Regions from separate parts of the Homo sapiens genome. Here region 1 is linked to region 2. Evidence: promoter capture Hi-C in human tissues and cell types (Jung and others, 2019). All regions are on one chromosome and are shown on one strand. Each heading gives the region's core, a stretch centred on a gene start or on the middle of the fragment in contact. The rest is flanking DNA. Distances are from core to core; before and after follow the strand shown. Region 1 overlaps CADPS2 (calcium dependent secretion activator 2). Region 2 holds the start of TAS2R16 (taste 2 receptor member 16).

Region 1 (7,150 bases), core at 1,663-4,162, 450 kb after region 2:
GTATGTTTTTATCACATCTCTTTGACTAAATCAGTACCCCTAGAAAGGCCTGCAATTGCCTTCTGCCCAAGACTAAAGGTGAAGGAAAAGACTAAAGAGGATATATCATCGTCTCTTAATTTAATCCATAAAGCTCAGGAACTCACTGAAGGACACGGACCAGAAATGCCTCATAGCCCAATTATCTAACATTGCTAAGAGATACAGGCATTTCCAGATATTTAAATATCTCTTCAGTTTCTGATGTATACATTGAAGCAATGTTAGAACTGAAAATTATCTGTGATGATGTTATGCTAAGATAGTGTGTTATGTAGCAGAATTAAGAATATCATATTCCAAAATAGTGGTTCAATTAAAATATTTTAATACTAATATTAGAAGAATTAAACATTTTCAGCAATGCTATAATAGTAATTGCTCCCTATGGACAGGGACAGTTAGAGGTGCTTTAACCTAAGCATCTGTTCTGTTTTCTCAGTACCCATGTGGTAACAGTTTTAAACATTTTGAATAATACACCTGTGTGTAAACATGTATTGGCAAACATTTCACCTACAGCATAGCTATATTCGTCTTTTTCTGAGGTACTTCATCAATGGATTTTACTGCACTTAATTACATTTAAGAAGAGAAAGTAAGTTAATCTTTTTCTTCCAAGTATTCCATCATACACCAAAGCAATAACATAACAGGAATAGTAGATTAATAGCATTTCGCTTTGGGCCTGGATCGTGTTTTGTCAATCATTTCTCCTATAATCAATAATTAACAGATGGATAATAATTTTGAGAGACAAGTCAAGTTTTAAAAATATTAATTTATCTTTAAAATATAGCAAACTCCTGTTACAGATAGAGTTGTTAGGTGGATTAAAAATAAATTGGAGGATAATGGATTTTTATCTTCAGAGCACTTTAGACTTTGAAATCTTTAGGACTTCAGTAGTAAAAACCTATTCTCTGTTTTAATAATGTGGACGTCAAATAGATCTTTCTTGCGTGAACTATTGTAACATGTATTCTCTGTTTTATTCATTTATCACTTATCTATGGCCCCTAAAAAATATTTTTATCAATGTTATTTATATTTTTCTGTGTGTTCTCAACTGTACTCTAAGTTTCTTAGACCTATTTGAATTCTCAATGCCTCCCACAGTGTATAATCAGAGATAGATATTAATGTGAATAATGATGGTGAAAATGTAATATTGTGCTCCCTAGAGTATTAAGGGAAAAGTAATACAAATGAGAGTAAGCTTTATTCACAAATGGAACCTTAAAAGATTCTAAACACAGTTTATTGAGAATAGAACATAATTTTAATGTAAAAAAATGCCTAAAATAAATGAAATAAATGGTGTTTAGTTCTCAATGTTGCATTTTAATATGACTATTTTTTTAAACCAGAAGGTAAAATGCATCCAATCTAAAGCTCATGTTTCTGATAACTAATCAGTCCACGACTATATATTATAGTTTATTTAAGTAGGACTAACTACATGTAAATGAAAATAGATATTTAATTTGGATCAAATAAGCATAACTATGATTCCATCCTTTTAAAACCAAACTGGGCATTACCACAAGACGTATATTTAGCAAAAACTTGAGTTTATTTATTCTTTTGGAATATGTCATCTAAACTAATTATAGAAACTAACCCTTAGATAAATCTATTGAACAAATTACCAGCTATGTTTTGAATGGTTAAATGATTCACATCCAGCTTTTGAATTTATTTTCCTGGTTTGTGTGTGTGTGTGTGTCTGTAGCATGAAGATAGAAGTGTTCTTGAACAAATGGGCTATACCTTAGCATAGCCTAGTGGCTAAGTAACAGTATTAACTTAAAACTCAAATAACTATTCCTGTTTTTATTAAATAAAATTATTTTCCTAATTCAAAGGTTACTTTCTCAACCAAAAAAAGTAAAATAAAATGGAACTAATAAATGACTGTTATGACAATTAAATCTATAACTGAAAAAGAGAAAATTGGCTTTCACAAATATGTGGAAGCATTATGACCATGATCTATGAGAAGTCTGCATGCAACTGATTACTTTTATAGTAAAAATAGAGTTTCGTAACTATATAACTATAATAGAAGACTTTTATCATAGTTTCTAATTGGTAAGATAAAATTTTAGCAAAACTACTCTGAGATGAATCTCATATTTCTCTTTGTGTAGAGTCATGCTTGGCTATTTACACATTTTGTTGAATGAACGGATGGATTAAAATATTTTGACATTGTCACAGATAAAACTCTGTAGTTTAATTTCCATCATAAAGATAGAAAAGGCATTGGGCTCATCTCTTGTTGCAAGGAGAGACAATAGTTAAACTTCCAGCAGAAAAACGAGACAAGCCCCACACCGGCTGCTTTGTGGCCCCACCATTTCCCAGAGAGAGGGCCAGCTGGGCATCCAGAGGTTGGGACAGCATGCCTACATAAACTGCATTCACACACTAAATATTCAGACATTGTATTTCCTCATAAAGTGAAATGACTGCACTCTAGTAAAGTTTCATTGTTTAGATTATTATTCAGGGTTTATGATCTCCAACTAATTTAGGGGAGGAAAATCTTAGCTGCGTCGAGGTAGTATTTGCTCAAAGAGTCCAGGCTTTAAACAAAGCCAAGTCTGTTCTTTCACAAAGCAAATTGATATTTCATTTTTAAATGTACCTTTTAGAATGACTTTCCCCTGTGTCCTTGTCTAAAATAACTATGTTTCGACATCTGACCTTGACTTGAACCTATGTATGTATGTATGTGTAGGTCTACTTGCATTCCCAGGTTGAACTTGGCCCAGCCTGGCTTATCCTGATTTCACCGAAATCCTACTTGAGTCCCTTGAACTATAATAATAATAATAATATTAATTAATACTAATCTTTTTTTTTTAAGACAGAGTCTCACTCTGTCGCCCAGGCTGAATTGCAGTGGCACCATCTCCGCTCACTGCAACCTCCACCTCCTAGGCTTAAGCAGTCCTCCCACTTCAGTCTCCCAAGTAGCTGAGACTACAGGCATGCACCACCACACCTGGCTAAATTTTGTATTAATTAGGCTAATTATACAATCACACGAATGTCTTGAGTGCGATGGTAACTACAAAATAAAAGTCATGTAGACGGTAAGTATTGAGTCAGCTGTTTAGGTTTATCAATCCTTGATTTTTTTGTATTAATTAGTGCAGTGGTAACTACAAAATAAATGTCATGTAGACAGTAAGTATTGAGTTAGCTGTTTAGGTTTATCAATCCCCAATTTTTTTGTATTAGAGACAGGGTAGAGACAGGGTTTCGCTATGTTGCCCAGGCTGGACTCAAACTACTGCACTCAAGCGATCCTCCTGCCTCAGCCTCCCACAGTGCTGGAAATACAGACGTGAGCCACTGTGCTCGGCCTTATGATATTCTTCAAGTTTTAACCACATCATTTGACTTTATTCAAAAGAAAATGCTTGAAGACAAATGAGAAAAATAGAAATGTACAAATCATCATTAATTCATTGAGAGTATAACAGTTATATCCCTATTAGGTCCTTTGCTTAATTGTTAGACTTTAATTTACATTTTTATTTGACAGCTATTATGGATGTAGATATGGTAGTTCGTTGCTCTTTGTGTGTTTATTTTTCTGCTAACTTTATTTTGTCTTCTCTCTATGTCCAAGGGAGAAAAATGAAAATATTACATAAGGGCTTTGAACCATGTCTGAGCAACTGACTTGAGTGATTTATCTAAGAAATAAGCTCAGGTTCTAAAAATAAAGAGCATCTGGAGATTATTTCATGGCAAGTGAGAGGAATAAGAAAGCACTTTCACTTTATTTCAGTCTAATGCTGTCTAACACTTTTTAAATAACTGGTGGTGCTCATTGTATGTTTTACTACAATTTGCTAGTTTAACTTGTAATTTTCTTGCTTAAATCATTAAATAAGTATGATTTGATCCATATAGCTCTACCAGTCTATCAAATCTTGCTAGTTGTGATATTAAAATTTGTCAAGTTTTATGATACATTGTTGATCTCATTAGATTTACATACCAGGTGAGTTAGTTTTAATTTCATCTCAGGTTGTTTTTGTTTATTTTTAGTTATAGTTTTATGTGTGATTCATTTTTATTTTAATTTAAAAAAATTTTTTAGACAGGGTCTTATCCTGTCTCCCAGGCTGTAGTGCAGTGGTGTGAACAGAGCTCACTGCAGCCTCCACCTCCTGGGCTCAAGTGACCCTCCCATCTCAGCCTCGTGAGTAGCTGGGACCACAGGTGTGTGCCACCATACCTGACTAGTTTTTTTAAAAAAATTTTTATAGAGATGGGGTCTCCCTATATTGCCCAGGCTGTTCTTGAACTCCTGGACTCAGGTGATCCTCCTTCCTCAGCCTCCCAAAGTGCTGAGATTACAAGTGTGAGCCACCACACCCAGCTAAATTGCTTTATTTGAAGAGGGATTGATAAACCTAAACAGCTGACTCAATACTTACTGTCTACATGACTTTTATTTTGTAGTTACCATCACACTCAAGACATTCATGTGATTGTATAATTAGCCTAATTAAATGTTTTGTGGAAAGAATCAGTGAGAGAGACTAGTGTCATTGAAATTAGCATTCTAAAGACCTTTGCCAGCTCTACTCTAGAATGCTCATAGTACTCACTTCCTCTGTTTCTTCTGTCTCTTATCAGGTGCTGTCTCTACAGCAGCCCATCCTGTTCACCCTACAAAGAACCCTTCTCTCTCTGCTTCCAATTCTACTTTTAACTGGCTTCATTCTTTTTTTTAAGCTCTTATTATCTGTGTGATATTTATTGTTTATTAACTGTATCCTCAACTAGAATGCTATTGCCATGGTGTAATTTGCTATTGATTAGCTTCCCAACTAAATTTGATTGCCATAGAATAGGAACCTTGTCTCACTTGCTATTTTTAAACCCAATTTTTAGAACATTGCCTAGTATTTAGTAGAAGCTAAACAAATATTTGTTGAATTGATGAATTTTTTTTAGAAAAGAATAGAATGCAGAAATTATGCTCACAGTTGTAAGTGGACTGATTGTTTGGATATTAACTTCAAATTATCTAATTGGTACCACTGTAAGGTGGATTTGTTGGAGTGTGTTTCAAAACATTATTGCCCCAGAAGAATTACAGGAAGTCTCCTTTTTTCACAAATTTAAATTTGACTATAAATCTAAAGACTGTATTAAAAAGAAATATATTATTTCCCCAAAACTTTAAATTGAAATTAATTACTGTCTGCAGGGAGGCTTGTTGCCTGTCAACATTTATTCTTAGACCATCCCTGTGGTTGAACTGTAGGAAGAAGTTTTAGCAACATTTCTTGTGGGTAGAGTATACCCCAGGGTTAATATGTTTTAATTTGTAAGAATGATGTATTATGTAACCAATACTTATAAAAATTAAAGGCAAAAAAAAAACACCCTAGATTTGAGCTTCGTTCATATTATCTTTATGGACTAAATAAAAGTAATTTGCTTTCTTTCTGCTACAGTGACCCCTGAATTTGAATAGTCATGCTATATTTATTTCAGTATTTATTCTGTCAATTCTATTTGGTGTACACTTTTTTTTCACATTTAGATAGGCTCAAAAATAATTCATGAAAATATTTTCCCCAACAGCTGACAAGAATGAGGAGAAATATACAAGGAACCAGTGTTTTAATGATGAGACAGGCAGGAAGAGTCCTAGACTGTATACGGAGAGGAATGGACTAAGCAAGCAAAAGCATGGGCTGACAGTACCAAGACTTGCAAAGATTTCAGAGTCAGAGCATGGCAGTGGGCCAAAGTCGGGATGAAACTTAGGAGCAGAAGGTTACATAAACCAGAAAGCATCATACATGGCAGTAGTGAAGGGCAATAGCAGCAAAAGTACAGCATATGGCAGCAAAGCTGGCCTTACTTGAAAGTCCCTGAAAAAAGGAAGGAAAAAGCTTAAGATCAGCAGAGGTCTAAAGAGGAGAAAATGAGTGTTTATGGAACATAGCAAAGGATAGGACATGGCCTAAAAATACAGGAATGATGAAAAGGAATCTCTTCAAAAGTAGTCCAAGCTTGTCTATTAGTGTATTTAATTTTGGCATTCTTTCCATAGATGTTAACATACGGGTATAAGGGTCCTAAAGAGTATTCCTACTCCTCTCTATATAATCATAACTAGAACTTACTTGAATGGGGCGTTGTTAATAGGGTATAATATCACGGCCACAGCCCCCTATGTAGACTGTATCTGAAGCACTTGAAAATCATAAGTAAACAATACTGGGGAAGATTATACAATGAACTTGCTTTAGCGTGATAGATGTGTGTTCAGATTATAAAAAGAAACATCACCACAATTTTAACATTAATACCAGTGTCGATGACATGAACAGAGGAAAGGGTTTACAAACATTATATTTCTAAGTATTCATCCTGCATTCATTTATATCCTTAAGGTTAGTACATTAGTAATTCAGAAGAGAAAAGCACATCTTATTCTCATGATTTAAAAAAAGATCGGCTTGTTACTTAAAAAAATACAAATGTATTTTTAATGCCTCTGGTTATTTTACGTATCAATATTAATACTTCTAAAACACATTTCAAAACATGGTTTTGACAGTGGATTAGAAGGATATAACAGTAGTCCACAGGTCAATCAAAGAAAAGTTGAATACCACCTATTTCCACCTTTGTGAAACTGGCAGCCTCATCTTTTCTGTCAGTTCGATTGATCTTTAGGTTTATCTTCAATTTACAACTTCCTCTTCACTGACATTAGTTAATCTCTATCTCTCTGTAGTACTTCCCACAACTAAATCCCTTTTTATTCCTTCTGCCAACCCTAATTCAGTCTCCATCCTAACAAACAAAACTTGTTCAAGGACTTTTCTACGATGTTCCCATTTTCCACACCATTTAGGAATTTAGGAATACAATTATATCTCTACTAAAAAAAAAATTCAGTTGCTTCCCAAGTGCCTGTGGGATTAGATGCAAATCCTTTAAGCTAGCATTCAGATTCTTCAAAAATCTGGTTCGTCTAGATTTTATACCCAACACGAACTCCTAACTTTGCCAAGTGGATCAGTTCATGTACCCTGAGCATGCTTTTATTTGCTCAAAT
Region 2 (7,473 bases), core at 1,303-3,802:
ACAAACACATACACATCAAAAAAGAGTACCATCTAGAAACACCCTTAATTTATTATATATGTGTATATATGTGTGTATTATACATTTTTATATATAAAAATGTATATGTGTATATAAATATAAAATGTTTGCTTGATAATAGCAAGCATTTATATATTATATATAACATATGTATATATATTATATATACATATATTAATATATATACATATGTTATATATAACATATGTGTATATATATAATGTTTGCTTGATAATAGCAAAGTCTAGAATTGGGCAAGTTATTCCTATCAAATTTGCAAATAAGATACAACAGTCTGCCTCCCTCAGGGGGAAGTAAATAAAGTATTAGAGGAAACTAGGAGTATGCTCAGGAATGAGAAAAAGACAAAATCTCTAACAGTGAAGATAGTAGATGCTTATAAACATAAATTGGCATTCTTTTTCCCTGTGGGACATTAGGAAAAAAACTGGTGGGCCTTCCCTCATGTCTACCTGAGAAGGGGGAAAGAGAATTGGAGAGATGACAGAGTAGAGAGGCATGGGCCTCCTGCCATTTATCATTTTTACTGAAAAGAATGCCAGAGTTTGCCATAGATCAAATGTACACTGCAGAAGGTAGCTGAGCTTCAGTCACCTTGCCAGCACCTGACCAATGAGGACTAGTTAAGGGACAACAATCCCCTGTCTGATAAGGGAAAGGGTGTGAGCTAAAGGAGAGTGGAAGAAGGCAAACCAGAATTGGGATCACTGCAATGAGGAGACCCCAGAGGTGGCCCTGAAGGTTCACATGCACACATGATGAAAGAGCCAGACTCTCAACTCCTAACCCCAGGGAACATCAATCACCAGTCTATGGACACTCTGTATGTCTCACCTTCAAACTTTCCCAAAAAGAGTATCTGGGTTATTTAATCAGCCACTATCACATAGAAAACACTCCAGTGGAGTAGAGTAGTGCCAGGCCATCTCTCATGCAGCAGGCCAGTCTATGAGGGGCTGCTTTGGACAGAAACTCATTCCTGGTCATACTATTGTGGCTGGAATCCAGTCATGAGGGGTGTAGTATGGTGGCCACACTTTCACAACCCCTCAGACAGAGATTGAGAGCATCACAGTCCTTCCAAGTTTACTCAGAATGGGGCAGTGTATATAGCTGGCAACATGCTTAGTGTATTCAGGACATAAATTAGAGGTTAATGCTATTATTGCATGTTTCACATACCAACATTTCATATCTCATCTTTCTCCCTTCTTATGTCTGGATACATCTCAACCAATTCACCTTTTAATAATATATATTGTTTTGTCATCTCAGTTTTTTATTTCCTGTTTCTTGCATTTTATTGAGAATGCAAAGCAGATGCTTTCTTACACTTAATTCTGTTTTCTGGTGTAATTTTTCAAGCTATTGCTTACCTTTGCTTCATGAGTTCAGTAGTTTCTTGTTTTGTGTTCAAGAATTCTAAGATTCATGTTTGCTTGCTTCTGTGTTGTCTTCCTTGAATGACTAAAAAGTCCATACAGACTCCGAGTTTATCATACATAAGGTCAATGACTTTCACTTTGTCTCTGTCACCAACTAGCAATTAGAATAACCTCTCATTTCTGAAGCCACTTATTACATATTTGGTGTCTATTTGGAAGAGTTGTCCTGAACTGAAGGAAAACGTATTCCTTTTATAGCCTGCTTGTATAGCTATGAAATGATGCCTGCACATTTAGAAGTAATACGCTTTACTAGTGGTAAGAGGGTCCTCTTTCAATTCTTCCTGAGCAATGGGAGCAGTGACAAAAAGAACCTAGCCATGTAAGAGAAAAAAAAAAACACACAGTGATGTTAATGGGACAAGAACAATTCCTGAAAATATATAAGGCATATGCTCAAAGCATCGGAATTGGCAGAAGAACAATAGCTAAGAGAGGCTGTGTGCAGTGTTTTCTCTGCAGTTTGATTTCTCTAAGTGGGGGAATTCAATGGGCAGTTATGAGAGTGGCCTGCATTGGATGGAAATACTTGAAGGTCTGGGGTTCAGCAATTTTGTGGAATTTCGGAGGAAAGACTTTTCATTATCATTTTTATTTACCCTCACACTTTGGTTGTAGCATCCACCACTAGCTGCCATGAGAACTGGGAAGATAGGGCTTCTGAGGTTCGCTTTGGTACTGCACTCAACAGAGCAGAAACATCATGCAGGACGTGAATGAACAGGGAAGGATTCATCTTTCTTGTTGCTCAAATTTTAGGTTAAAAGAGTGAAGATGTCATTTAAAGAAGATAAGGAAATAAGCTAAGTGCACCTCAGAAAAAGAGGAAATAAACAACATGGTTATGAAATACATATGCCTTTTTGGAATAATCAAATCACCTCAGGAGCAGGAATCCACATTTAAACATTTCCCTACATTCAGATGTGATAGCAAACCAGCAAGCAAAGCATAAACAAATTCTATAGATAGGAAAATGACAAAATCAAAAATGAGCTTGGGAAAATTTGCTTCCAGAGAGAGGGGTTTTCTTGTACCAGACAGTGGTGGAATCAGGAACCCATTCTCTACCTGGAAATTGGTACAGAGATTCAGAGTCTTTGTCCAGGAAGACACTTTGGAGTAGAAGAATGATACCCATCCAACTCACTGTCTTCTTCATGATCATCTATGTGCTTGAGTCCTTGACAATTATTGTGCAGAGCAGCCTAATTGTTGCAGTGCTGGGCAGAGAATGGCTGCAAGTCAGAAGGCTGATGCCTGTGGACATGATTCTCATCAGCCTGGGCATCTCTCGCTTCTGTCTACAGTGGGCATCAATGCTGAACAATTTTTGCTCCTATTTTAATTTGAATTATGTACTTTGCAACTTAACAATCACCTGGGAATTTTTTAATATCCTTACATTCTGGTTAAACAGCTTGCTTACCGTGTTCTACTGCATCAAGGTCTCTTCTTTCACCCATCACATCTTTCTCTGGCTGAGGTGGAGAATTTTGAGGTTGTTTCCCTGGATATTACTGGGTTCTCTGATGATTACTTGTGTAACAATCATCCCTTCAGCTATTGGGAATTACATTCAAATTCAGTTACTCACCATGGAGCATCTACCAAGAAACAGCACTGTAACTGACAAACTTGAAAATTTTCATCAGTATCAGTTCCAGGCTCATACAGTTGCATTGGTTATTCCTTTCATCCTGTTCCTGGCCTCCACCATCTTTCTCATGGCATCACTGACCAAGCAGATACAACATCATAGCACTGGTCACTGCAATCCAAGCATGAAAGCGCGCTTCACTGCCCTGAGGTCCCTTGCCGTCTTATTTATTGTGTTTACCTCTTACTTTCTAACCATACTCATCACCATTATAGGTACTCTATTTGATAAGAGATGTTGGTTATGGGTCTGGGAAGCTTTTGTCTATGCTTTCATCTTAATGCATTCCACTTCACTGATGCTGAGCAGCCCTACGTTGAAAAGGATTCTAAAGGGAAAGTGCTAGGCCTAGAGGTTGCCTGAGGCACAGGATAAAAGACTCCCGAGCAATTGATATAATTAATACCAGAAGAGAGTATTGCTCTTATCAATCAATTCATTGTGAATCACCATAATGCAACCCTCATTCCCTTCCATCTTCGCAGCCATGTATTTGTAAATAATCAACCCTTTCTCTATCCTTTTCCACTGGTTTCCTTTCCCTTTCACAATCCTCAGGTTGGTTCCAACTTGCTCAAGACTGCCCCATCTCTCCTTAGTCCTTGCCAACTCTGGAATTGTACACCTGGTATATTCTACACAAGACAGTCAAAATCATGGTGTCCACACATTACTTTAACCTTCCCATGACTGCCAGTTACTTCACACATGAATATGAATACCATCCCACAGAAACATATTGCTTGTACCCTGAATGATTCCCATACTAAGCCTTCAATTCACTTTTTTAGTCAAGGAGTCTCTCTCTCTCTCTCTCTCCCTCACTCTCTCTCTCCCCCTCTCCATCTCTCTCTCTTTCTCTATCCCCTGGCTGTTTCTGGACTTTTATCTGATGACACAAATGTTCTTATTTGCTTCTCTTCCAAATGCCATGTCTTTATCTCTTTAAAACTCAAGTCAAAATTTAACTCTTTCTTCATTTCCATTAGCCAAAACATTATACTCTTCCCCAGAATAGCAGACACTTTACCCAATCCAGATTCATCCTTAATAATTCCCCAAATATTGACAATTTAATTGTGTCAACTATACAACTATAAATGGTTTCCATTGGCTCAATTCTTGCCTCTCTATTGTATTATAACTTGTATTGTATTATTAACTTGATGGAACATCTCCATGTTGAGACATAGTTGTTTTATTTCCCATATACAACCCAGATATCAGTTAAGAACCACTCTTAGCTCATAACATTTGAGTGGCGTTGGCTTACACTTTCTACACTTTTTTATTCTGTCCAAAGCCCTCCCAAAATGAATAAGAATATAGAAATCACACAGTAATCAGTGAAAAATCACGTATAAAACATACTCATTCTTTAGACGTTCTTTCTGCCTCCCTGTCTGACACGTTTCTCTCATACCTTCTTCCCTTGCAGGACCCCATGCCCTTATCTCCAAGGCATCTCACTCCTCATTTATCTCCTCTTCACCCTCAACTACCAGCAGCTATGTGTCTTGGTAATGTCCAACCACTATGCCTTTGGGTCTCAGCCTCTGTCCACCCCAGATACTTATTAAGGTATTCTTCTTAAAGCCAGTTGCATCTCTTACACCATTCTGGTACCAAGCGTAAATAATGTGATGTTTTCTACCCTTTGTATATATTGGGCATGTCTGGTGAACTGATCTTCTAGCTCTGCCGTTAGAAGATTGAAACACCTCCTGAAAGCAAATCATCCTATGGGGCAAAGGATGCAAGTATCTCAAGCTTGACTGTGAAAGAATGGCTTAGTCCTGGAAAGGAATGGAAATTCTGATCTGCTTGTGGGCTTATCACTCTGATTTGTCTCTGAGTCAAATTCATATTTGAAACTGAAGGTGTGAAACATAAGTAAAAACTGAAAGACCACTTTTACCAAAGACTCTGTGCCATTTGGCATATCTCAGCAGCATTCCTACTGTTGCACACAGAGGGGAGTGAAGCATGCTGTCCCACTCCACAGAAGCACCCTGTCAGCCTTGCATCTCCCTAGGTCCAATGGTTTCACTGCAGTAGAAGGTGGGACAAAACCTGGTGGATGCAGTAATGACTGGGGAGCAGAGTCCTAACCATGGGTCTGAGAAGAAAAAAGGAAAAAAAAAAAGGTAGATATTGGCATTGAGTTGACTCCCAGGAATGCTTAGGAGGCTGGAGGGGAGGTGCCTTATAGGGTTTGGGATCCTGCTGGAATAGATTGAACAAGAGCCAGTGAAATTAGGATTCTACTGCTATTTGTCATTTGCATCCACATCCAGATGAGGTCTTGCATGTTCAAAAACCTCAGATAGCTGAAATAAATAGAAACCGTTCTTCTCATATGTGTATAAATAGAGAACGGGAAAAAAAGAACACCCCCTCTCCCCACAATCACACACACAGATGCTATTCCAGAAGCTGTTAAATATTTTTAGTACTCTCACTGTCTCTTTTGAGTAAAGTGCAATGGAAAACTTATCCAGGCTATGCATAAGGTAGGAGTGTTAGAAGCAGTTGAGGGGATCCAGAAATCAGAAAAAAATAAAATACAAACAGAAATAATAACTAACTTTTATATTAATGGCACCTAATTGTTCGCAAAAAGATTTTACTTACATTTTCTTATTTTGGACTAAAAGACAAATCAAGGTCACCTAATCCAAACTAGCTGGAAAATAAACCTAAGAAGGTCAAGTGATTTACTTAAATTAATGCCAAATCTGAAGTCAATGGAAGAGGAGAGGGAACCGAGAGATAAATTTTAAATGAGAAAAAATTTAATTTGGAAAAAGATATGATTTAAAAAGCAGATGCTGGCCAGGCACAGTGGCTCACGCCTGTAATCCCAGCACTTCAGGAGGCCCAGGGGGGTAGATCACCTGAGGTCAGGAGTTTGAGAGCAGCCTGACCAACACGGTGAAACCCCATCTCTACTAAAAATACAAAAAAAAAAAAAAAAATTAGCCAGGCATGGTGGCAGGCACCTGTAATCTCAGCTACTTGGGAGGCTGAGATAGGAGAATTGCTTGAACCTGGGAGGTGGAGGTCGCAGTGAGCCAACATCGTGCCATTGCCCTCCAGCCTGGGCAACAAGAGAGAAATTCTATCTCAAAAATAAATAAATAAAAAGATGTTTTGAAAAGAATAACAGAACGATTGTGACCAAAAGCTAGGACATTTTTTGACAGCTTCCTTTAGCTAGATATGAAATTAAGATACCAAGGAGCTAATGCACCTGTGTTGTCCAATTTGTAAATACTTTATCCTATATAATGCTTTTTATTAAAAGTATAGTGTGTTGCCTGATAACTTTCTCTCTCTCTCTCTCACACACACACACACACACACACACACACACACAATACAGAAGAAGGGAGAGGACGTGATAGGGGAGTGAAAGAATTTACCCCACTTTCTTCCCTGCTGTTCTCCAGCCTCTACACCACGCCTAAGATAGGAGAAGAGAAGAAGCCGTTAATTGGATATGAGATTAGTGTTTGATTTAGAATCTTTAAAGTCTAAACATGAGAAAATTCTTAGAAAGCTATGGAATCTATAATGCCATCAAGAATTGGGAAAGGGTCATTCTAGGAATATTTTTGAACACAGAAGCCAGAGAAAACTTTGTTTCTTTGGAGCACAACCTATTCAATAACTTTGTTACAGGAGACAAAAAAATCAGTAAGATGTGAAATGCCTCTACATTTTCTCTGAGATTGCTTGTCAGGTATCGTGCATTGCATTCCACTTATTAAACAGACAAATTTCTTTTCTCAGAAAGAGCTAAACCAGATGAGATCGGGTGCATTCAGGGTGGTGTGGCCAGGTGGCAGTGGCTCAAGCCTGTAATCTCAGCACTTTGGGAGGCCAAGGATGGCACATCACATGAAGTCAGGAGTTCCAGGCCAGCTTGGCTAACATGGTGAAACCCTGTCTCTGCTAAAAATACAAAAGTTAGCTAGGCATGATGGTGGCGCCTGTAATCCCAGCTACACGGGAGGCTGAGGCGGGAGAATCACATGAACCTGGGAGGCAGAGGTTGCATTGAGCTGAGACTGTGGCACTGCATTCCAGTCTGGTAAACAGAGCAAGACTGTCTCAAAAGAAAGCAAGGAAGGAAGGAAGGAAGGAAGGAAGGAAGGAAGGAAGGAAGGAAGGAAGGAAAGAAGGAGGGAGGGAAGGAGGGAGGGAGGGAGGGGGAGGGGAGAGGAGGGAGGAAGGGAGGGAGGCAGGGAGGGAAGGAGGGAGGGAGGGAGGGTTAAGCCAAAGGCCAAGGAATTTAGACAGAGCAACATTAAATTTGGGGAT

The links. The method cuts DNA at HindIII sites, captures the fragments that hold promoters and counts their contacts. A contact is called where the count stands out against the background at its distance.
Region 1: a contact is called between a fragment that was not itself captured here and the fragment with the promoter of TAS2R16 in region 2, in 1 of the 25 tissues and cell types used here (aorta).

The regions. Positions count from the first base shown.
Region 1 is chr7:122,545,382-122,552,531 of GRCh38, reverse strand. All of the region lies in intron 8 of CADPS2 (calcium dependent secretion activator 2), which reads left to right. All of the region lies in intron 3 of LOC105375481 (a long non-coding RNA gene), which reads right to left. Among named protein-coding and RNA genes, the nearest start is that of RNF133, 150 kb to the left of the region's middle. The HindIII fragment of the contact is 6,247 bases long and covers 1-6,035 here.
Region 2 is chr7:122,990,779-122,998,251 of GRCh38, reverse strand. It overlaps TAS2R16 (taste 2 receptor member 16), which reads left to right and starts at 2,552. Exons shown (of 1, transcript NM_016945.3): 1 at 2,552-3,548. The coding sequence starts at 2,618. The coding sequence ends at 3,493. The HindIII fragment of the contact is 11,039 bases long and covers 1-4,161 here.